4 separate regions of the Homo sapiens genome follow, and regions 1, 2 and 4 are each linked to region 3. Evidence: promoter capture Hi-C in human tissues and cell types (Jung and others, 2019). All regions are on one chromosome and are shown on one strand. Each heading gives the region's core, a stretch centred on a gene start or on the middle of the fragment in contact. The rest is flanking DNA. Distances are from core to core; before and after follow the strand shown.

What was found. The method cuts DNA at HindIII sites, captures the fragments that hold promoters and counts their contacts. A contact is called where the count stands out against the background at its distance.
Region 1: a fragment that was not itself captured here is called in contact with the fragment with the promoter of ELOVL3 in region 3 in 4 of the 25 tissues and cell types used here (aorta, dorsolateral prefrontal cortex, spleen and 1 more).
Region 2: a fragment that was not itself captured here is called in contact with the fragment with the promoter of ELOVL3 in region 3 in 3 of the 25 tissues and cell types used here (IMR-90 fibroblasts, aorta and mesendoderm cells).
Region 4: a fragment that was not itself captured here is called in contact with the fragment with the promoter of ELOVL3 in region 3 in 3 of the 25 tissues and cell types used here (H1 embryonic stem cells, heart left ventricle and stomach).

Annotation. Positions count from the first base shown.
Region 1 is chr10:102,264,120-102,267,669 of GRCh38, reverse strand. All of the region lies in intron 3 of GBF1 (golgi brefeldin A resistant guanine nucleotide exchange factor 1), which reads right to left. Among named protein-coding and RNA genes, the nearest start is that of GBF1, 20 kb to the right of the region's middle. The HindIII fragment of the contact is 6,652 bases long and covers 1-3,550 here.
Region 2 is chr10:102,281,439-102,284,774 of GRCh38, reverse strand. All of the region lies in intron 3 of GBF1 (golgi brefeldin A resistant guanine nucleotide exchange factor 1), which reads right to left. Among named protein-coding and RNA genes, the nearest start is that of GBF1, 38 kb to the right of the region's middle. The HindIII fragment of the contact is 3,528 bases long and covers 320-3,336 here.
Region 3 is chr10:102,224,840-102,227,909 of GRCh38, reverse strand. ELOVL3 (ELOVL fatty acid elongase 3) reads right to left here and starts at 1,611. Exons shown (of 4, transcript NM_152310.3): 1 at 1,261-1,611; 2 at 153-284. The coding sequence starts at 1,361. RefSeq lists a silencer at 1,580-1,629. The HindIII fragment of the contact is 12,375 bases long and covers 1,099-3,070 here.
Region 4 is chr10:102,182,046-102,185,457 of GRCh38, reverse strand. No RefSeq gene overlaps it. Among named protein-coding and RNA genes, the nearest start is that of NOLC1, 31 kb to the right of the region's middle. The HindIII fragment of the contact is 4,792 bases long and covers 1-3,412 here.

The DNA.
Region 1 (3,550 bases), core at 446-2,945, 40 kb before region 3:
CCATTCAACCTTCTTCTCATGCTGATTAATAATGATATATTACTTTACTCCCTAAACTATAGACCCCTGTAGGAAAAAATAAAAGTAGGCACTTAATCAATAGGACTCCAGCAAATTTTTTTCATATAACATACTCGCTTTTGTTGTTGTTGTTGTTGTTGTTGTTGAGATGGAGTCTTGATCTGCCACCCAGGCTGGAGTGCAGTGGCACGATCTCAGCTCACTGCAATCTCACCTCCTGGGTTCAAGCAATTCACCTGCTTCAGCCTCCTGAGTAGCTGGGACTACAGGCATGCGCCACCGCACCTGGCTAATTTTTGTATTTTTAGTAGAGACAGGGTTTCACCATGTTGGCCAGGCTGGTCTCGAACTGCTGACCTCAAGTCATCCACCCGCCTTAGCCTCCCAAAGTGCTGGGATTACAGGTGTGAGCCACCATGCCTGGCACATATAATATACTCTTATTCAATCTTTTTCCTGACAATGACTACTAAAATCTCTTTTCTCTACACCTCCCCATTTTCCAAATGAAACAGATTAAACTTGAGGTATCAGGCATTCTCAAACAGTTTCTTTTCTACCTAAGCGGCTACTGCTAAGAGGCCCAGGCCAGACAGGTGTTAAGTCATAGTTCCTCCCAAGTTGGCTTCCAGACTCTGTTTAAATGTTCTCTGCAAACCTCTGGAGGTTAGATGGACTCAAACCTCCTAGCTCAGACTCTGAATTCACAAAGCTTGAGACAGACAGTACCCTACAGGTGTGTTTGTCCAGGATAAACTATACTTAAATAAACTCCTGACACATCCACTTTCTCCTGGCACGTGCTTCTCCCTCTTAAACTCAAGCACGCCATAACCTGCTGTCCCAGTAAGCTCTGTAAAGAAATATCCTATCCCCCAGAATTACGCTATGCAACCCACCAATGTCTTTGGGAATAGCTAAACTCTGGCCATAACAGCTTTACATGTGAAAGCCAAATAAGCAAATATGAGCTATTGTTTTTACTTATTTCTTTGGCTTGTTCCTTAAGGAAAGAGCAGGAATAAGAAAAGCTGGCAGCAGATTGCTCTCACTCATGGTCATCCATTCCATGCCTGATAGGGACCATATAGCATAAAGTAGAGGCTACAAAATGTTAGCTTTGGAATGATCAGCTAGAGTCATTAGTCCTGTCAAACCAGTGGCTATGAGGGCAGGAAGTCTGACTGATTGTTTACCATTACAGACCCACTTCCTAAGTACCTAAGAAAAATGCCTGGCACATACCAGATAGTCAATAAATATCAGTTAGAAGCAACTCAATAAGCTAGGCCCTGAAGGAATCCAAATCTTGGAGAATCCCCAAAAGAAAAGGTCTAAGAAGCTAGAACAATGTTATAGTTAATATGGGTACCTATACTGGGCCTCAAGACCACCTTAGTTTTTTTTTTTGAGACAGAGTATCGCTCTGTCACCCAGGCTGGAGTGCAGTGGCACGATCTCGGCTCACTGCAAGCTGCGCCTCCCAGGTTCAGGCCATTCTCCTGCCTCAGCCTCCCGAGTAGCTGGGACTACAGGCGCCTGCCACCATGCCCGACTAATTTTTTGTATTTTTTTAGTAGAGACGGGGTTTCACCGTGTTCGCCAGGATGGTCTCAATCTCCTGACCTCGTGATCTGCCCGCCTCGGCCTCCCAAAGTGCTGGGATTACAGGCGTGAGCCACCGCACCCGGCCCTCCACCTTAGTCTTACACTGAGAACCCCAGTCCTGATAACCAAAACTGGACATTAGGTCCTCAGAGCTAAAAAGACCTGGGACTAAATCTCCAAAGGCAAACTCCTCACCACCACACCCTCACACGCACATAGACACACGCACACCCTAAGAAGTCTTCCTCAAGCCCTGGCCCTGAAGGCTTTAAAGTAAGTCATTAAAAGATGATCCCATAAGAGAAGATTTTGGTTGTGATACTTTCTTTCATTCATTCATTCATTCATTCATTCATTGAAAGGGTCTCACTCTTGTCACTCAGGCTAGAGTACAGTGGCGCAATCATGGGTCACTGTAACCTCGAACTCCTGGGCTCAAGTGATCCTCTCGCCTCAGCCTAAGTAGCTGGAACTACAGTTGTACGCCACCATACCCAACTAATTTTTTTTATTTTTATTTTTGTAGAGATGGGGGGAATCTTGGTATGTTGCCCATGCTGGTCTCGAACTCCCAGCCTCAAGTAATCCTGCTGTCTTGGCCACCCAAAGTGCTAGATTACAGATGTGGGTCACTGCACCTAGCCTGGTTGTGATACTTTTAGACTGTTCCTCTCCTGTTTTAAACCAAAAATTTTCTGGAAAAGAATCTCTTTGTAATGATCTAAGTTTAAAGACCAAGGACAAAGACAGACTATATCTGGAGGCAAATGACTACAACCAAACACCACAACTCACAACTGACTATAGCCCTTTCCATAAAGCTATACTGGATGAAGGGAACTAAGGCTTGCAAGAATTTATCTAGTCTGGGAACAAAGAGATCAAAGACCACAGACCATATTGGCTAGAAGCATTCCCATAAACTGTCTACTCTTGTCAGATCTAAAACCAAGAGCAATATCAAGTATCCTGATATTTCACTTTCCCTTCCATGCCCCATCCCATGCCACAGATCCTACCACAAGGTCTAGCTGCGAGACTGAAGATAACTCCCATATGCAAGAGCCCCAAAAGATTCTTAGAAGAATAAAAGGAAATGTGTCTTTGGAATCTAAACCCATGGCAGGGCTTGGGCAGATGTAAGAGAGAGGCAGTGGCCCTTCTGCCCCTAAGGCCAGGACACCCCAGCCCTGCAGGCAGCACAGAGTTAACTACCCACCCGCTCTGAGAAGCACAAAGGTACATCACTGCAACATGCCTAACATTTACATTGCCTCTCTCTGCTCATTAAACAGGTTTTGGTTAAATAATGAACAAACTGTATTACAGACTCCAATGAGAATTCCAAAATTATAAATCAACTGGGAAAGCCCAAAGGGGCAGACAGACAGGGAGGGGGGAGAAGGATAATATTGACTAATATAAAGGGCGCAGCTTGACAGTGGATATTCCTGCCACACCTGATCAAACACACTCCGTGGGGGGAGGGGAAAGAGAGCAAGAGAGGGAAGATGGGACAAGACAGCCTGAAATTTGCATCCGGAAAAGATTAAAACGGATTCTTTGGGGATAGAGAAAATACATAATATATATTACTATAAATGCAAAACTGTACTAAAAGCTAACTCAAATGTCAAAGATTACAGTTTGAATAAATTTAAATATAAAAGCCATGTGCTTCCTTGAGTTAATGAGAGAGACATAAAAGGACAAACTGGGCCAGAAGCTGAACAGAGCCTTATGCTGCCTTTGCTGGGTAATGGGTCCAAAGCACAGCAGTGACTACAGAGACTTCCCTCCACAGTTCTGAGACCTGAGAAAAAACTGGCAAATCCATCACTTCTGCAGCCTACATTTGCCTCCTTTATAAACTGAGATATGATTCACATACTATAAAATTATCCTTTTCAAGTATACAATT
Region 2 (3,336 bases), core at 834-3,333, 56 kb before region 3:
TATATATCCAAAGGAATTGAAAACAGATACTCAAATACATGTATACACATGTCCCTAGCAGCACTATTCATAATTGCCAAAAGGAAGAAATGGTCCAAATGTCCATCAACGAATGAATGGATGAACAAATTGTGGTATACACACACAATGGAATATTATTCAATCCTAAAAAGAATTGAAGTGCTGATTCATGTTACAGCATGGATGACCCTCAAAAACATTATGCTAAGAGAAAGAAGCCAGACATAAAAGGACACATATTATATGATTCCATTTATATGAAATATCCAGAATAGGTAAATTTACAGAGACAGAATGCAGATGGATGGCTACCAGGGGCTGGAGGGGAAGGGAAAGTGTGGAGCAACTGCTTAATGGGTACAGGATTTCCTTTTGGGGCGATGAAAATGTTTTGGAATTAGATAGGGTACATTGTGAATGTACTAAATGCCACTATATTGTTTCACTTTAAAATGGTTAATTTTATGTTATATGCATTTCACTTCAGTTTTTTAAAAAAGCTCTTGAAAATACAAGTAAAGATCCTCTTATCTCTAATTTGACTTTATTTTTCTAAAGTGCTTTAACAGGATATGAGCTTCCCTTCTAAGAAACCATGAACAATTTCCAGTTAAAGCCTGTCGTGTCTCCTCTATAGTTTTTGTAGAGACAAGCAGGTACCTCAGTCCATAGTGCAAAGGGTCACTTGGGATTCTTGCAAAAAGTGAAACTTACCTAGTTGCTTTCCACTCACCAAAACTGGTTGCAGAAATGTCAGTGGACGTCTATGTCTGTATTCCCACTGGAGGCTCACTGAACCTAAGCTTCTTTAGCAGCTAAAAAGTCTCCCCTCCTTGGAGACTTAACATCTATTGAGACTTCACAAAGATTTCACATTATACAAGACCACAGTAAGAAATTTCCTCCTCTTCCACCACAGCTCAATTCGGAGTTCTTTGGAAACACAGGTACTTCACTGTCTCCTGTTTTGCATTCTGAATAAGAGATCCTCCCACGTTTTTCCCCTACCTACAGGTTAAAACTTGCCAACAGACAAGACTTACTGGTAGAAGCACTTTGAATAGTCATTCTTCATATTGTCACTTTGTCTTTCATATTTCTCTTTCAAATTGTTGAGGCAAAAGCATTTTCAGAGTATGAGGTCTATCCTCTAGTATTCAATACCTGTTACATCTTTGCTGTCATCAACAACCTCCCAGCCTCCTAGCAGAAGGCCTCAGTCACCCAAGCCCTTAAAGACTCCTATAATTGGTGGTTTATACTTTCTCCCCTGTCCTAATCCCACTTCATCATGCCATGAAGATACACAATATTTGCAAATTTTCTAAAGCTCTTTCTCATTGTTTTGCTCATTGCTATTTCCACAGCTTCCTTTTGGAGATAAAGCCAGGCCCTTCCTGGCCTCAAGAATTTACCTGTGCCTGGACACAACTAGAAGAGGGCAATAGTCACCAGAGGGTCCAAACACAGCTTCTATGCTCATAGCTACATATAATAAAAGCATAAACGGAGAATGATCCCCTTTCCCATTAATTAAAATGGCTCTACTAACAAGTGGTTGTTAAGGGTATCAATAAACTGCCTACCCTCTGTCATCTTAGGTTGAAGTACTTTAAAAGTTACCTTTTAGGATCCAGGTACTATCTTCACTACTACTTCTCTGGGCAAGATGAGTGACTCCTTACCTTAAGATCTGATGGTTTGTACCTCAATAGTTTCCACCTCCTTGTGATAATCTTTTAATAGTATCTAGGATCATTAGTAACCCGCTACTTTACCTCCTCTCACCTCTCCCCTTTACTCATCCCTCCGGACAGAGCATTCAGAGTCAGTTAAGTGCCATGTCTTATTGAATTTTTAAATTTTTCTACTATCTCTTAGCACTGCAGTTCTGTGAATCTCCTTACTCCAAGCCAGAACTTCAGCCTACCCAATTAGAGACTGGAATTTAAAAACTCATGTTCCTATTCCCAGATAGTTAACACCACACGTGCTGGAAATAGGCTAGTTGGGTTAGTGTTCATGCTATACTCTCAGCAGACTTTCCTACTGAACCTGGTATCCAACAACAGGGACCAGTAAGCAGCCTGAAGTCTGTTGCCAGGGAACAAGGCTAACTCAGGATTTTCTGCCATCAGTTCCTTTGGTAGACATAGCAGAATCAAAGAGAAAGGGGTTTTCCCAAAATAATTGTGATTAAAATAATAATGTTAATTTGTCTCCAGCAAGACAGAAGAGTCCAGGAACAAGCTAGACTCACCTCTGTCTCTTGTTCCTCTTCAGTAAATGGCCCACCTGAAGGTTAGCTGTAAGTCTGCCCTTATTCACGTGAAAAGCAAATAAATAACCTCATCGCCTTTTTCCAAATCATAATCACACTTTAAAAGAAGCTTTTACTGTATAACCTTGAAAATGTTACTTAATTTTTCTGGAACCTGAGTTTTATCTGTAAAAGGGGAATATTAATAAAGGCACAGTCTATCTTGTGAGTTTTTGTGAAACTTGAAAAGAATACAGGCGGCCGGGCGCGGTGGCTCACACCTGTAATCCCAGCACTTTGAGAGGCCGAGGCGGGTGGATCACAAGATCAGGAGATTGAGACCATCCTGGCTAACACGGTGAAACCCCATCTCTACTAAAAAATACAAAAAAAAAAAAAATTAGCCGGGTGTGGTGGTGGGCGCCTGTAGTCCCAGCTACTCAGGAGGCTGAGGCAGGAGAATGGCAGGAACCTGGGAGGCGGAGCTTGCAGTGAGCCAAGATCGCGCCACTGCACTCCAGCCTGGGCGACAGAGCGAGACTCTGTCTCAAAAAAAAAAAAAAGAAAAGAAAGAAAAAAGAAAAGAAAAAGAATACAGGCAAACTGTTACAGCCAAGTGGAACCTAACAAGATGTGATGACTAAATGTAATGTGGTATCCTAGATGGAATCCTTGAACAGAAAAAGGCCATTAAGTAAAAACCTAATGAAATCTGAATAAAGTATGGACTTTAATTAATGATGAATCAATATTTGTTCATTAATTGTGACAAATGTGTCATATTAATGTAAGATGTTAATAACAGGGGAAACTGGGCATTGGATAGATGAGAACTTCTTTACAACTCTTCTATAAATATGTTTATAGAAATAATCTATTATAGATTATGTATGAGTCTAAGTTATAATATAACAATTTATATAAATATAATTTATAGATAATTTATAAAAATATAATTTATAGATTATAATTTATGTGCTTTATAGATTCTAAAATTGAAAGGCTATAATGAAAAACCACTTTATAAATTATAAAGTTCTAGTCAATTGTAAAAT
Region 3 (3,070 bases), core at 362-2,861:
TGGGAGGGGAACTAAAGCCGAGAATGAGATGGGGAGAGTGTTACAAGGCAACTTGGGGACAGGATGGAGGTTGATGCAATCGGGAAAGCTTCAAGGGATAGAATGGTGGTCTAAGATCTAGAGAAGAGGCAGGGAGTGGGATGGGGTCTTACCTGAAGATTGCAAGGCAGAAGGACCAGAGGATGAGAGGCCCTTGCAGGTTGAAGCCCTTGCGTTCCTTCATGTAGTTCTGCCCCACAGCGATGAGAACCAGGTAGATCAGGGCTATGGGGAATGAGGTTGCCCTGGCAAGCAGAAGGCAGAGGGATGGGCTCATGGGTGGGTGCTGATTAGAGAAATGCCCACTCATCTCTCCAGGTGAGTGCTCTGGGTTGGAGTCCCAGTTCTGCCACTTACTAGCTATGTGACATTGGAAAAACCAACTTAATTCTCTGAGCCTTGGCTTCCTCATTTGTAGAGCGCGAATACTACATCTCTCCTGGGGGTATTAACGTATACAAAGTATCTAGCACAGGGCAGGAGCTATGTCCAAGGTTTCTGTGATTATTGCTCTCTCAGTGGGGTTAGAGGTGGGTGACGGCTGTCTGGCCCGCGCCTAGAAGCAGCCCAGGGCTGTGGTGTAAGAAGTGTGGCAATAGCTTCTCCCTGGTTGGGGCTCCTAGAAGCATACCAGGGCTGTGGCGTAAGAAGAATGTGGCAATAGCTTCTCCCTGGCTGGGGTATGGCAAATTGGTTGGAGCATAAAGTCAGCCTCCAAAACCTCTGGGGAGCTTTAAGGCAAAGCCAGAGAGCTCTTCCTGGGGAAAGCTTGGAAGAGCTCTCTGACTTCGCCTCCTTCTCCACAGCAGGAACGGTGGAGCACCTGGGGAACGATGGGATAATTGTAAAGGGCAGGCTGTCCCCCGGGCCCTGCACTGTGCACACACGCGCGCACACACAGCCACAAAGGACGGGGAAGTCATCTAGTAAGGCTTCAGATCAACCTCACGCCTCCAAGACCCTTCTCACTACACGCTCTCTTTGACTTCTGTATATTTCCACGTTCTCCCTCATCCTCTTATTTCTGCTTGCTTGCTTTCAGCTCTAATCTCTTTGAGGTGCCACATACTACCTGCACCTCGGACAAAGGTAGTGTGAAGCCAGTACAAGGGAGTCCCATAACTCTGCTCTGTAAGAAAATCATTGTGGGCATTCAATGCCACCCCCTCGCGCCCCGGCCCCGGGGCCCTGGCATGGCCTTTCCCTCTCCCAAAGTCTCACCAATACTCCTCGAAAAAGGGCCTCATGTCCTTGGACAGCTCGAAGTTATAGGGCTGGAACAGCTGATTTACTTCATGTGAGACATTCATGGCTGTGACCATCTAGTTTTGCAGAAGTCAAGGTCCAAAGCTTGGAGGCGCTGGGTGAAAGGCTGGGGCTCCGAGGATGGCGTGAACCTCGGGGCGAGACGGAACAGAGCCGGGACAGAAGGAACTCCTGGGCAAAGGGAGGAGGGCGTCGAACCTAGGCATGTGCGCGGCGGCGCAGCCAGCTATCCCGGGCGCAGCCACTGCGATATATAACGCGGACTTGCAAAGCTGCCTGCCCGGGCTGGCGCGACCTCTTTCCTGCGCCCCGCCGCTATCCAATCTCGACCAAGATACGCCTCTGCTCCGCCCCTGGGACGCAGTCCGCATTCTGATTGGTCATACTCAAGGGCCCGCCTGCCAGGCGTTTCGCACACCCCGCCCCAAGTCCCGTCGTAGGCCATCGCCCGCCCACTTCCCCAGCCTTTTCTCCCGTAAAACGTCCACCCCATCCTGTGCGGCCTTGCGGGTTCCCTTGGAACTGTCAACCGTGGCCTTTGCCTCGGTTTGCTTTAATCTTGACCTGCTTAGCAGTGAAGAGAGAGGAAAGGTGTCCTTAGGCTTTGGTGCTCCCACCCAGAAATGGAGGCGTCAGTTTCCAGGCTCCCTGAGATCCTGGGAAACCCAGGCCTGTGATGAGCAAATACTAACCTGGGCAACGCAGAGCTTCTGTAGTCCCTTCCACCTCCTAGCTTCGAGTCTGCGGTTGTGAGTGGGTGGAAGGAGATGAATTTTAAGGAGTTTTATTGTTGAGGTTGTTGATGTTGATGTTTGGGTTGTTGAGGCTGTTGTGGTTTCTTTATAGTTTCCTGAATTCCTGAACTGCTCCAGACTGACAGTAATAACCATGGAGAGAGGAAATGGGGTCACCCTCTGGGCTTCTGGAATTATTGTCTTCAGGTTTCCTGGAGGCCTCTTAGGGTTTAGGGAGGGGGAGAGCCAGTGTATCTCCCCAAGGCCTGTTGTTTTCTCTCCCTAACCAAATCTACTTCTTTCTCGCCTGTGTAACCAGCCCCAAAGAAATAAATGTTCTAAAACTTTTAAAAGTTTTACTTGGCTGTCCCTTATTTCTTTCCTAGGTTTTATGAAAGCGAAGGAGAAATACAAGGCTTGAGGGCAGTTTGAGATAAGGTGGAAATTTGCAAAAAGTGCTAAGAAACATAGATATAAAATAATTAAAATCAAGATGTGGGTATAAATGGCTATGTGCAGTAAAGCTCTAGAGCCAGAGGATCCAAGTAGGAACCCCAGCTCTATTTCCTGAACCTCAGCCACTGTCTATGCGAGGGTGTAGTGGAAGTCCTATCAGTGCCATCTAAGTGACTCAAAAGTGCATCTCTTTGTCTCTGTACCTCATCACTTCTCACCTGGTCACGTTACCTGGTTGCACTGCCTCTTTCTCTAATACAGTGCTTCTGCTCTTCACTGCATTGCAATCAGAAAAGAGTTCCTATACCTGGCTGATTACCAGATTCCTGAGCCTCAACTGCAGAGATTCTGGTCCTATAGGTTGTCTCAGACTGTACTTGGAAAACCACTACTTTCTGTTTGCTCATCCAGAAAACAGCTCTGCTTTCCTGCTTAAAAACCTTCAGTGGTTCGGCCGGGCACGGTGGTTCACGCCTGTAATCCCAGCACCTTGGGAGGCCGAGGCGGGCAGATCATGAGGTCAGGAGATCGAGACCATCCTGGCTAACACCGTCAAACCCCGTCTCTACTAAAAA
Region 4 (3,412 bases), core at 235-2,734, 42 kb after region 3:
AGAAGATGGGAGCTCAAAACCTCAAATCCATCTCCCTGATCAACTAAAACAAGGGTTTTATACAGAGGGGAAGAAATGTAATGTGTAAGAAAACAGGAAGTAGGGAGGGCCAAGGAAGTAATCATGATGAATGAGGGGTCCAAAGTCTCATTGTCTGGATGTAGTGATCTGGTGAGTTTCAGTTCATTGATACTTTTTTTTTGCGGGGGAGAAGCCTGAAGGTCATTTACTAATGAAGGAACTCAAATAAAGCAAATATAAGTTTCAAGCTTTAAGACCAGAAAGATAAATTTTTATGTTTATCCAAAACAATAGTCTCTGGAACTATTGGGTTGATTTCATTTGTTTGTTTTTTACCTTTTAAGTTCAGGGGTACATGTGCAGGTTTGTTATATAAGCAAATTTGTACTTGTCACAGCGGTTTGTTGTACAGATTATTTCTTCACCCAAGTATAAAGTCTAGTATTAGTTATTTTTTCTGATCCTCTCTCTCCTCCCATCTTCCACCCTCCAGTAGGCTCCAGTGTCTGTTGTTCCCCTCTTTGTGCCAATGTGTTCTCATCATTTACCTCCCACTTATAAGTGAGAACATGCAGTGATATGTTTGGCTCTGTGTCCCCACCCAGATCTCATCTTGTAGCTCCAATAAGATGTGGGAGGGACCCAGTGGGAGATGACTGAATCATGGGGGTGGGTCTTTCCTGTGCTGTTCTGGTGATAGTGAATGGGTCTCAAAAGATCTGATGGTTTTAAAAATGGGAGTTTCTCAGCACAAGTTCTCTTTTTGCCTACTGCCATCCACGTAAGTTGTAACTTGCTCCTCCTTGTCTTTCTACTGTGATTGTGCGGCCTCCCAGCCATGTGGAACTGTAAGCCCATTAAACTTCTTTCTTTTGTAAATTGCCCAGCTTCAGGTATGTCTTTATCAGCAGCATGAAAATGGACTAATACAGTAAATTAGTACCAGGAGTGGAGTGTTGCTGAAAAGATACCTGAAAATGTGGAAGCAACTTCAGAACTGGGTAACAGGGAGAGGCTGAAACTATTTAGAGGGCTCAGAAGAAGAGAGAAAAATGTGGAAAAGATTGGAACTTCCTAGAGACTTGTTGAGTGGCTTTGACAAAAATGCTGATAATGGGTCAGGCATGGTGGCTCACACCTGTAATCCCAACACTTTGGGGGGCCGAGGCGGGCAGATGACCTGACATCGGGAGTTCAAGACCAGCCTGACCAACATGGAGAAACCCCTTCTCTACTAAAAATACAAAATTAGCCAGGCGTGGTGGTGCATGCCTGTAATCTCAGCTACCCGGGAGGCTGAGGCAGAAGAATCACTTACCTAGGAGGTGGAGGTTGTGGTGAGCCAAGATCACACCATTGCATTCCAGCATGGGCAACAAGAGCGAAACTCCGTCTCAAAAAAAAAAAAATGTTGATAGTGATATGAACAATAAGGTCCAGACTGAGGTGGTCTCAGATGGAGATGAGGAACTTGTTGGGAACTGGAGCAAAGGTGACTCTTGTTATGTTTTAGCAAAGAGACTGGCAGCATTTTGCCCCTGCCCTAGAGATTTATGGAACTTTGAACTTGAGAGAGATGATTTAGGGTATCCGGTGGAAAAAAGTTTCTAAGTAGCAAAGCATTCAAGAGGTGACTTGGGTGCTGTTAAAGGCATTCAGTTTTGGTTTTGTTTTTTTTTTTCAGACGGAGTCTTGCTCTGTTGCCCAGGCTGGAGTGCAGTAGCACAATCTCGGCTCACTGCAAGCTCCACCTCCCAGGTTCACACATTCTCCTGCCTCAGCCTCCCGAGTAGCTGGGACTACAGGCGCCCACCACCACGCCCGGCTAATTTTTTGTATTTTTTAGTAGAGACAGGGTTTCACCGTGTTAGCCAGGATGGTCTCGATCTCCTGACCTCGTGATCTGCCCACCTCAGCCTCCCAAAGTGCTGGTATTACAGGCGTGAGCCACCGCGCCCAGCCGGCATTCAGTTTTAAAAGGGAAACAGGGCATAAAAGCTTGGAAAATGTGCAGCCTGACAATGCGATAGAAAAAAAAATCCCATTTTCTGAGGAGAAATTCAAGCTGGCTGCAGAAATTTGCATGAGTAATGAGGACCCGAATGTTAATCCCCAAGACAATGGGGAAAATGTCTCCAGTGCATGTCAGAAGTCTTCACAGCATCCCTTCCCATCACAGGCCAAGAGGCCTAGGAGGAAAAATTAGTTTTGTGGGCTGGGCCAAGGGTTCCTGTGCTGTGTGCAGCATAGGGACTTAGTGCCTGTAATCCCAGCTACTTGGGAGGCTGAGGCAGGAGAATCACTTGAACCCAGGAAGCAAAGGTTGCAGTGACCCGAGATCTCACCACTTCAGCCTGGGCTGTGTCTCAATTTAAAAAAATAAAAATAAAAAATAAACAAGGCCAGAAGCAATGGCTCACGCCTGTAATCCCAGCACTTTGGGAGGCCAAGGCAGGTGGATCGCGAGGTCAGGAGATCGAGACCATCCTGGCTAACATGGTGAGACCCCGTCTTTACTAAAAATACAAAAATCAGCCAGGCGTGGTGGTGGTGCCTGTAGTCCCGGCTACTCAGGAGGCTGAGGAAGGAGAATGGCATGAACCTGGGAGGCGGAGCTTGCAGTGAGCCGAGATAGTGCCACTGCACTCCAGCCTGGGTGACAGAGCAAGACCCTGTCTCAAAATAAATAAAATAAAAATGCCAAGGCCAGGCGTGGTAGCTCATGCCTGTAATCCCAGCACTTTGGGAGGCCGAGGCAGGCAGATCACGAGGTCAGGAGTTCAAGACCAGCCTGGCCAAGATGGTGAAACCCCGTCTCTACTAAAAATACAAAAATTAGCTGGGTGTGGTGGCAGCGCCTGTAATCCCAGCTACTCGGGAGGCTGAGGCAGAGAATTGCTTGAACCAAGGAAGCGGATGTTGCAGTGAGCCAAGATCGCGCCACTGCACTCCAGCCTCGGCAACACAGCAAGACTCCATCTCAATAAATAAACAAACAAACAAACAAACAAATCTTTCATTCTGTAGCATTTCAAATTAAGGGGAGAAAAAAATAAATTGGCCAGGCTTGGTGACTCATGCCTGTAATCCCAGCACTTTGGGAGGCCAAGGAAGGCAGATCCACTTGAAGTCAGGAGTTTGAGACCAGCCTGGCCAACATGGTGAAACCCTGTCTCTACTAAAAATACAAAAATTAGCTGGTCATGGTGGCGTGCACCTGTAGTCTCAGCTACTCAGGAGGCTGAGGCAGGAGAATCACTTGAACCTGGGAGGCAGAGGTTGCAGTGAGCTGAGATTGCGCTACTGAACTCCAGCCTCGCGACAGAGCGAGACTCCCTCTCAAAAAATAAATAAATAAATAATTAAGAGGCAGAGGGGGTGGGGCAAAAAA